2 separate regions of the Homo sapiens genome follow, and region 2 is linked to region 1. Evidence: promoter capture Hi-C in human tissues and cell types (Jung and others, 2019). All regions are on one chromosome and are shown on one strand. The core of a region is centred on a gene start or on the middle of the fragment in contact, and the rest is flanking DNA. Distances in the headings are between cores, read along the strand shown.

Region 1 (5,330 bases), core at 1,395-3,894:
TCAGAGTGAAGTGCTCTGCATGGATTGACTGTCATCCTCACAACATGCCTATGAGAGCTTCCCAGATGGAGAAACTGAGGCACCAGAGGTTAAGTGTTTGCCCAATGGCATGTGGCTGGTAGGTGGTGGCACTTGGATTTGAACCCAGGCAGTCTAACTCCAGGGTCTTTGCTGTCAACCTTTAGTCCCTGCTGCCTAGCTCCCACCCCCTCCCAGCCCGTCCCCATGCACACTCAGCCCCCATCAGATCCCCATGCAGGGTCTGGTTTCCACACCAGCTTCAGGGTCAGAACTCTGCAATCTCCCCTCAGTCGGTGTCCTCCTAGGCACCCTGCCAGCCAGGCCCCCTCCCTTCTCTGGGCAGTGCCCCAGCCTGGCTCCCCTGTAGTTCAGGCCAGGAGGCCAGACCCAAAGACCCCTGGCAATTGCCCCCAATTCTGACGGGTGGGATGGAGTGGGCCAGGCTCTGACGGTAGGTGAGGGTGAGAGGCCCCGTTGTGGAGTGGCGGGGCTGGTGTGTACCTTGGCAGGGGGACAGAAAAGTGGGAGGCCCTCAGAGGGCAGGCAGCAGAAGGGGGAAGGTTGAGGGGGGTGGGCCCTGACCCGAGACAGCCTGGGGCCCTCCCTGCTCCTTTCCTGGACCTGGTGAGGGCTCTGCTCTTTCCCACTGAAAATACACACACACACAGCCACACTCACCCCCACACACAGCCACCCACACCCCCCCACAGACACACAAACACACACACACACTCCCACCCACACTCACACAGCCACACACACCCACACCCACAAACACAGAGCCACACACACACTCCCATCCCCACACACAGCCACACACACACCCATACCCACAAACACACAGCGGCACCCACACACCCACACACACAGACACCCATACCCCCAAACACAGCCCCCCACACACACTCCCACTCACACCCCCCCACACAGCCACACACACAAAGCTACAATACACCCACACAGCCACACACACCCACACAAAGCCACATAGCCACATCCACACACCCAAATGCAGCCACACCCCCCACACCCCCCCACGCACATACCTCCCCACACGCACACAAATACACACCCCCACCCCTCCACACACCTACACACATGCTGACCCCCCACCCATGCGCGCACACACACACTTGCACACCCAAGCACACATACCTCCACATATGCCCACACCCACCTACACGCATGCACACACACACCCAGGCACGCACACACACACACATGCACACACACACACACACACCCACCTACACGTACACACACAGGCACGCGCACACACACATGCACGCACACACACGCCCACACCCACCTACATGCACACACAGACACCCACACTCACCTACATGCACACACGCACACAGACACACACACACACACACCCCAAAATCCTTTCCTGACCTCATCTCCCCTTCCCTCTGCACTTGCTGCCTCCTCCTTTCTCCCCTGCTGCCTGGCTACTGCCCCTACCCCCACCCCAACCTCCAACCCTTAATTGCTGTCCCTAAGAATGTCCTTCTGTGACAGCCCATCCCGTGGGCCTCCCTGGCCTTCTAGAAGCACTCTGCCTTTGCCTTCTGGGACACTGCTCTCCCGGTCCCTGCCATCTTCTCAGTCTCCTTTGCCGACCCCTCTCCCTGGGCAGCCCCGTGAATGCTGATGAGTGTCCTGCCCGCGCCCTGCCCGCCTCCCTGGGCCCGCTCCTTATTCTATGGCATCAGTCGCCATCTGCAAACCGTGGATTCCTCCTCGCTATCCCAGAACTCTCACCTCCCTTCCGGATCCATGGAAGTCCCACAGGCTCATCCAATTCATTACATCCGTCCTCCTTCTTCTCCTAGACCCTGCCGCCCCCAGGCCTAGCCCAAAGCCTGCGCACTGTCCTTGACACTGCTTCTTCCTAGGCCCCTCGCCCAAACTCTGCCTAGTTCGCCTCCTCACTCCCCTCACACTGGGCCCTCCCTTTCCTTCCCCCTCACTGTGCACCTCATGGGACCATGCCAGGGTATTCCCGCAGCCTCCTCGGTGGCCTGCCTCTATCTTCCTCCACACAGCTTCGGGAGGCTCTTTCCAAAGCACACATCTGACCACGTGACTGCCCTGCTCCAGAGCCTTCCGTGACTCCCCATTTCCGAGGGACGAGGTCTGGCCTGCTCCCGCCTGCCTCTGTGACCCCGGCTCAATGCCCTAAAGCCTGAATGTGCGGGTCACGACTGGCCCCTGTGAGTCCTCCGGGCTCAGCCTACCGAGGTCACGTCTGCAGGCAGCCTTCTGGGGACTCCTCACTGGGGGCCACCAGCCCGAGCTGCCCCTTCCCTGCAGGACCACGCCTGGCCGTCCTTCTCAGCAGCCGCGTCCGTCCCCACAGGCAGGTGGCCCCTCGAGGGCAGGGGCTGCGCGGACTCCCCGGCGGCCGAGCCGCGGGTCAGGTGGACGGGGAGGGATGGGGGCGGGCCGCCCGGGAGCGCGTGTGTGGAGGGGGCTCGGCGTGGGTGTCGGGGAGGGAGGCAGCCGTCCGAGTCCGCGCTGGGCGCGCTGGGCCGGGCGGGGCGCGGGCCTTGGCCGTGGCTGTGGAAAGAGGAGGGCGGAGGCCCCGCCCCGACGCGCCCCTCCTGCCGCCCGCCCACTCCGGCAGCCGCGAGGGGCGGCCGGCAGAGCGACGCGGAACCCCGCCGGCGCGGACCCCGGACCCCAACGCCGCCCGCCCAGCCGCGGACGCCCCTGCCCGGAGCCCTCGCCGCCCGGGCCGCCCTCGAGGGCCGGGAGCGGCGCCCGGCGGCCGCGCCCGCAGGTAAAGGCCAGGAGGCGGGCACCGGGGCTCGGGCTGGGGGGCTCCGAGGGCAAGACCTGGGCTGGGCTTCCCCCAACACCATGCGGGATAGCAGGGCCGGCGCCTCGGACTCCGGGGTGGGGACGCGGTGGGGGACTCGGGCCAGGGGGTCGCCTTAGAATGGGGGAGCCCATCCCGTTCCCTGTGCCCCGTTCCCTCCCCGGCAGGATCCCAGTAAAGCCCCCTCCTCCCTTCCTCTCCCAGAAGCGAGGGCTCCAGCATAAGACAGTGCCGGGTGCAACCCCCGACGATGTGGCTCTGGGCGCGTCACCACCTCCCGATCTCCCGTCCCACCTGTAAAGTGGGGATAAAAAAGCCGCCTTCACAGGGTAGTGGAGGAGAGAGGAGGGAGTGAGGGGCCTTAGCATCCCCCCGCTCTCACTCCTGCCCCCATCTCTCTGCCATTGCTGATTTGCTGGAGACCTTCCAGTTATAAGGTTTTTCTGCCTTAGCCCCCAGGTTCCTCCTATTCTAGGTGCCCTGTCAGTCCCCTCGCCCCAAACTGAAGACAAGTTCCCAGGAATGTTCCTGTCAGGGGCTCAGCATCCCCCCAGCTCCAGACTGAGACTTGCAGGGGGTGAGGGGCCGCTGCCTGGCCAAGAGGGACTGGGGTCCCAGGGCCCCAGAACAACCTCCCAGTGTCTCTGCCCTGGGTCTGGAGCCACCCTAGCCCCGGAAATCCTCCAGGTAGAGAAATGCTATTCAGCCAGAGGGCCCAGGAACGCTATTGCCACGGGGAAAACTTTGCTGGTTGTATGTGTGCACGCACGTGTGTGTGCCTGTGTGAGACCATGCTGGGTTCCTGACACAGACGTGCGGCTGACCTCCTTAGGGGTGCCGGAGCAACCAGAAATCATCCCTCCTGTCTGCTATCAGTACCTCTTGCTCAGGCTGGCAGCAGGGGCTCATCCACTCCTCTTAGCAGAGTCCCCTTGGCAAGGACAGCCTCCCAGCAGCTGTACTGGGCATTTGAAAAATCTGGGGGCCGTGGAGCTGGATGGCTGGAGGGTCAGGCAGCCTGGGGTTCCTCTCTGGGGACTGAGCTAAGATCGACTGATCCTTACTGCCCCAAGCAGAGGGGGCCGCAGGGCAGGAGTTGGTGATCTCTGGAGAGACACCATGGTTGGTGGTCTCCATCAGGGCACAGGTGCTGTCACTGGCTTCCCAGTGGACTGGTGAACACCTACAAACCCTTGGACACACAATGACCCTAGATGATAATGAGGAGAAACCACAGACATGCTCACCCAGCCACACACAGCCTTGCACCCTTCTGAGAGCCATGCACAGTCACACACCGACCCAAACATTCATTAGATTCATGCGGACACCCTCCTCTAATGAAACATACACCACCACAAGACACAGGCGGACACATGCACACACACCCAAACTCCTACAGACACATGGCAGGCCCCACGTGGCCCAGCCAGACATACTCAGACAGGACGGCACACACACACATACGCTCACACCCAGACACACTCACCAGGGTCTCTTTCTCTGGTTTCACTTCGTCTACCACAGTGAAAATGAGAATTTCCGCTCTTTGGCTCAGAGGAAGGGGAAAGAAAATATGGAAGTGAATGTGTCTGTTAGCAAGAGGGAGGAGAAAGATACTAAGCAGGGCTGTCAGCCTGAGCCCCTGTACTCCACTACCTTCTCTGCTCCTGCCTGAGCCGGAACAAAGGACGCACAGCCCCAGCTTCCTTGCCCTGCTGGCCCCCCAGCCCGCTCCAGAACTCTCAGTGGCAGGGATGGGGCACCTCTTACAGGGAAGTGGGGTCTCAGATGCGCTGGTCCCATCCGTGGCAGGAGGAAATTATAGTGTCGGGTCGGAGGAACGAGAGAGACACAGCGGCCTCTCCTCTGGGGTGTGGCTGTGGTCTCACGGTGCCCTACTAGGTACCCGAGGAGGGGCACCATGCAAGCCAAAGTGCAGATCAGGGAAGGTGGCACCTAAGAGGTAATCTGGCCAGGGCTTTCGAAGATGATAATTTTGACAGGTGCAGGGGGTGGAAAGGGTGAATGGGAGGGTGTTCCTGGCTGAGGGCACAGCTCGTGCAGAGGTGTGGAGGGGGAAGCTTCAGGGTTCTCTCAGGGACAGTGAGTAATGGGAGTAATGGGCACTGTTGGATCACACTGGGGAGTGGGAGGGACTCATGACTTTGAGGTCAGATTTCTAAGGGCCCTGTCTAGAGAAAGGGTGTGAGCTGCGAATGATATAATCTGGGAATCACTCTGGCTGCTCTGGGGAACAAGGATGAAGGGGGGATCTTCGAGGCAAGGGAGATCACAGAGGAGGCTGGGCAGAGTTTAAGGAGAAAGGTGACGGGGGATGAAGTGGGCGGTTGCCATGGGGATGAGAGGAAGAAGTAGATGGAAAGGAGTAAGCCGGTTGGCGATGGGGCCAGAAGCCTTGCACTGGATGGCTGTGGCCTGTCCCCAGAGAAGGCAGGTGCAGGGGAGATGTGGGTTTGGC
Region 2 (5,330 bases), core at 1,398-3,897, 57 kb after region 1:
CAAACATGAATCTCCCCAACTTTTCATCTTCAGTACTTGAAATTCTCATTGAAATTAATGCAGATGCCAGCTTTGTTAGCAATGAGTTGGAAAAGCCCAACTGCCTGCAACAAGGGGAGGTTGGCATCTGTGGAGATAAAAGTAAATGTTGAATGCGTCCATACCCTGTGTACCTAAAATGCATCCTTTTTTCTTTTTTTAAAAAAAATCTTGTCTGTTGCAACAAAGAATTGTTTACACTCCCTGCAGTGGTGTGCCCTTTGTAATTTCCTAGAAACAGAATCTCTTCCCCCCATGGAAATGCATAAGCCTGTTGAAATGTAAGGACCTGCCACGATCTATAAAGGTAACTGCATCAGACACCTGATATGACCTGCAGGTGCTCAGAATTGAATTCACATGAAGCAGAAACTTTCACTATATTTTAACCTTTATAGGTACATGATGATTGGAATTTTTAAAGTAAAGCAAAGTTAAATTCTGCAAAGACATGAGTGAAATAAGCACACTTTCTTTCTTAAAATCTAACCCTCTTCTTCAAAGAAAGGTACCAAAAATCGGCCAAGAAACAGGGAATAACCATCTAGTTGTACAATAGCCTCTGATGCTAACATGTAGCAAAAGTGCCTGAAGGCAAAGGCGAAGTTAATTTCTAAGTATTTGTATTTTATTATTATTATTTTTTTTTTTATTGAGACAGAGCTTCGCTTTGTTGCCCAGGCTGGAGTGCAGTGGCACAATCTTGGCTCACTGCAACCTCTGCCACCTGGGTCCAAGCAATTCTCCCACCTTAGCCTCCCGAGTAGCTGGGATTACAGGCACCCTCCATCGTGCCCAGCTAATTTTTGTATCTTTAGTAGAGACGGGGTTTTGCCATGTTGGCCAGGCTGGTCTCGAACTCCTGACCTCAAGTGATCCACCTACCTCGGCCTCCCAAAGTGCTGGGATTACAGGCATGAGCCACCGCACCCAGTCAATTTCTAAGTATTTGATGGTTTTCACCACATTAATCTAACTCAAAACTGCAGCTGCCATAGCACCACTAAAATCATTTGGTTTTTGAAAAGTTATGCTTTTGCCAAGGATTATTATAAAGAAAAATTCAGCCTGTGTGCTGGATATCTTGCAGGGAAGAAACAACAGGATATGTTTGTAAGTGAACACTACACCATGATAAGGCCTATGTTTCTCTTATTCCTATTTCATAAAATGATCTACAACAAAGACATTTTCACAGAGGCAAACTGGAAAGGAATCCTTCACACAACACTCTTCTATTATCTTGAACGTCTGAATAGCTTTTCCTTTGGAGAACTCAAATGCTTCCGCAAACATTATCTTATTCTTACAACAATTTAGTGATCATGCCTATAATCCCAGCACTTTGGGTGGCTGAGGCAGGAGGACTGCTTGAGCTCAGGAGTTAGAGATCAGCCTTGGCAACATGTGAGACCCCATCTCTGCAATAAAAGAAAATAATTAGCTGGGTGTGGTGGCATGTACCTCTAGTCCCAGCTACTTGGGAGGCTGAAGCAGGAGGATAGTTTGGGCCCAGGAGTTGGAGGCTGTAGTGAGCTATGATCACACTACTGTAGTTCAGCCTGGGCAACAGAGTGAGACCCTGACTCAGAACAAAAGAACTCCAACAATTTAGTGAGGTAGGTGAGGACAGGTATTACCACTCTTATTTACAAGGGGAAACTAGGCACACAGAGATTAAACGAATTGCCTAAGGACACGGAGCAAATCAGTGGGAGACCTATTACTAAATTCCAAGTCTCTGGCTCATATTCTAGAGCCCTTTCTACTCTCAAAGGCAATAAATTCTCAATAGGCTTTTTCCATTTGTGATCTTTCAAAAGTTCCTCCATTAAAGAACACCTTAAGCCTTCTCTCTTATAGCCCACGCTTGACTAGGAACTGGGATGAGTTTTAAACTATTTTTACACAATATTTTGCACATATCAAGAAGGCAGATGTGAGACATAAGCTGTATAATAAAGTCAGAATAAATACATAAATTAAGAGAAATGAACAGGTTAAGTATTAATTCATTCAATATAATTTTTTACATATTTTAGAAGCCATGTATCAGAATAAAAGTCATAACATTTTAAAGTTTAAATCAGAGTCCAATTTATCAAAACCATAAGCTATATTAATTTTCTTTAAGAATATGAGGATCTCTGTTGGTTGGCAGAAGGTTAGAATATTACTTTCAAGAATAATTCTTATTTATTTATTTATTTTAAAGATTGGGGTCTTGCTGTATTGCCCAGGCTTGCTTTAAACTCCTGGGCTCAACTATCCTCCTGCCTCATCCTCCTGAGAAGTTCGGACTACAGGTGCAAACCACCACATCTGGCTAATATCAACAATAATATTATCACTGTGCCATAATACATCATATTCCTGATATATACTCTGTTCACATTAGCATTCTATAGCCAGCAAAAAATTCCATGGCTAGAGATAATACTTGCAACATTAATACTTTCAATCTTAATTCTCACTTAACTGAGTTAGAATTTCTCTTCATATATGTTAAAGTTACATTGTAATAATCATCATTCTATCTATTTTTGTTTTATCCTTCCCCTCTTTTATTTTTAACAGTGTGTGTGTTTGTGTGTGAGTGTGTGTGATGGGGAAAAAAGAACAATTGTGTGATTCACAAATGGCATAAAACACTGATTGTATTACAAATAAGAATGGTGGCACTCTAGTAAGTAAGATAATGGAATGTCAAAGGAAACAAACTTTAGAATACAAACATGGAAAACATGCTAAAATATTAATCAAGCTATAGCTTGTGGCATGTGATTCTTCTTTCCCAAGTATTTTGAGAGTGTCATTTACCCCCAGTAGAATTCTATATCAACTGCCTCTAAGTCCTTTTCCTATTCCTTCTTTTTTTTTTTTTTGAGACGGAGTCTCACTCTGCCACCCAGGCTGGAGTGCAATGGTGGGATCTCGGCTCACTGCAACCTCCGCCTCCTGGGTTCCAGACTACCTTGTCTGGAAAGGCCCTGCTTGGTGTTTTCTATTTAAAGGGGAAAACCAAACATGTTATGTTGATAGCAATGCCTGGCTCTATTAAAGATAAATCCTTCATTTAATTTCCTTATTGTAATTCAGACTAGCAGGATTCTCCTGCCTCAGCCTCAGGCGCCTGCCACCACGCCTAGCTAATTTTGTATTTTTAGTAGAGACAGGGTTTCACCATATTGGCCACGCTGGTCTCAAACTCCTGACCTTGTGATCCACCTGCCTTGGCCTCCCAAAGTGCTGGGATTGCAGGCATGAGCCACTGCTCCCGGCCTATTCTTTCTTTTTTAAAGAGGGAATGGGGTTGGACCCTGGGCTAAGAAATGAGAAAGCTCCTGGAAAACCTTAATTGCAATTAATTACTATAGAAGATCAAGTCTGTTGCTAGCAAAACCAAAGCTTCCTTTTGTTAAACTCCCTGGGATCAAACTGTATCCATGAACTGGGTCGGACTGTCTATGCCAAAATTCTTTCTTCATTACAAACTAACCAGTGTTTTTACCAAATCCCACACCAAAACCATTTTCTTTACAGGAAAGACTACATTGTCTGGAAAGGCCCTGCTTGGTGTTTTCTATTTAAAGGGGAAAACCAAAGACACTATGTTGATAGCAATGCCTGGCCCTATTTAAGGATAAAGACTTCATTTAATTTCTTTACTGTAATTCAGAAGCAACTTCCAAGACTTCTCTAAGTTACTGAGAATAGGTGTGCCTTTGGGTCTGGGACAACATTATCATATAAATTTAGATTACAGAGACGCTCGTCTTAGGTCTCTTCTGTAGGTTCAAATAGCAATAGCTGCTCTTTTACTCTGCAAATATTAAACAATTGTAAGGTTTCTGTCCAAGGATCCCAGCAAGGAAGCCTTATCCTAAATCCCCCCTCACTATATATTCTCACAATCCTACTAGTCTATTTCTTTACAAAGACCTCCAGTTTCTACAGATTCTGACAATAAAGAGTCACGTATGCAACATTTTTGCAGTCTTTCCTTCTTTGGTTCTAAAAAGACTATTAAAGGACTAACTTAAGAGATTTTTGTTTGTTTTCCCAACCAAAAATGAAATAAAGATGAAATAAAGCCATGAAATAAAGATGAAAGTTTTGTCTTTTATTTTTAAAATTATTATTATTTTTTGAGACGGAGTTTCACTCTTGTCGCCCAGGCTGGAGTGCAGTGGCATGATCTCGGCTCACTGCAACCTCCGCCTACCGGGTTCAAACGATTCTCTCGCCTCAGCCTCCCGAGTAGCTGGGATTACAGGCGCCCACCACCATGCCTGGCTAATTTTTGTATTTTTAGTAGAGACGGGTTTTGCCATGTTGTCCAGGCTGGTCTCGAACTCCTGACCTCAGGTAATCAGCCTGCCTCGGCCTCCCGAAGTGCTGGGATTACAGGTGTGAGCCACCGTGCCCGGCCAAGATGAAAGTTTTAGGCACTAAATATCAGAGTAATCTCCCTCTCTAGTCTCTGGTGTTGCCTCTTCAACATCAAACATAAAATTATAGATAGCATACCGCCAATTTTTGGAAAGAATAAAATTTAAAAAGCAAGGCTCTAATGACCAACACTTCCATCTGTTTTCTACGCATAACGCTGTTCATGGCAATTCTTTTTTGGGATGATCTATTACTGCACAACGATTTTTTTTTTTTTTTGAGACAGAGTCTCACTCTGTTGCCCAGGCTGGAGTGCAGTGGCACGATCTTGGCTCACTGCATCCTCCGCCACCACACCCGGCTAATTTTTGTATTTTTAGAAGAGACAGGGTTTTGCCATGTTGGCCAGGCTGGTCTTGAACTCCTGACCTCAGGTGATCTGCTCACCTCAGCTGCCCAAAGTGTTGGGATTACAGGTGTGAGCCACTGCACCTGGCCACAAAGCTTTCTTTCTAAAGAGGTGAACTAAACATGAACAAGCCATCAAGTACTTCACTGCGGTCAAGCTGTACTGATGTCAGGTAGCAGGATTTGTGGAGCCAACCAGTTAAAACAGCAAAATAAGCTCTATATGCCAGGTTTCTATGAACTTTCAGAAGGAAAAAGAAAACACAGGACCAGAGGCACCTTTTTTTGTTTGTATGTTTGTTTTGAGATGGAGTCTTGCTCTGTTGCCAGGCTGGAGTGCAGCGGTGCAATCTTGGCTCACTGCAACCTCCGCCTCCCAGGTTCAAGTGATTCTCCTGCCTCAGCCTCCCAAGTAGCTGGGACTACAGGCGTGTGCCACCACACCCAGCTAATTTTTGTATTTTTAGTAGAGATGGGGTTTCAGCATGTTG

Evidence for each region. The method cuts DNA at HindIII sites, captures the fragments that hold promoters and counts their contacts. A contact is called where the count stands out against the background at its distance.
Region 2: a fragment that was not itself captured here is called in contact with the fragment with the promoter of COL8A2 in region 1 in 10 of the 25 tissues and cell types used here (H1 embryonic stem cells, adrenal gland, dorsolateral prefrontal cortex and 7 more).

Annotation. Positions count from the first base shown.
Region 1 is chr1:36,122,536-36,127,865 of GRCh38, reverse strand. COL8A2 (collagen type VIII alpha 2 chain) reads left to right here and starts at 2,644. Exons shown (of 4, transcript NM_005202.4): 1 at 2,644-2,809. RefSeq lists a silencer at 5,132-5,330. The HindIII fragment of the contact is 15,339 bases long and covers 1-5,330 here.
Region 2 is chr1:36,065,420-36,070,749 of GRCh38, reverse strand. It overlaps AGO3 (argonaute RISC catalytic component 3), which reads right to left. Exons shown (of 19, transcript NM_024852.4): 19 at 1-5,330. Among named protein-coding and RNA genes, the nearest start is that of TEKT2, 16 kb to the left of the region's middle. The HindIII fragment of the contact is 8,465 bases long and covers 1-5,330 here.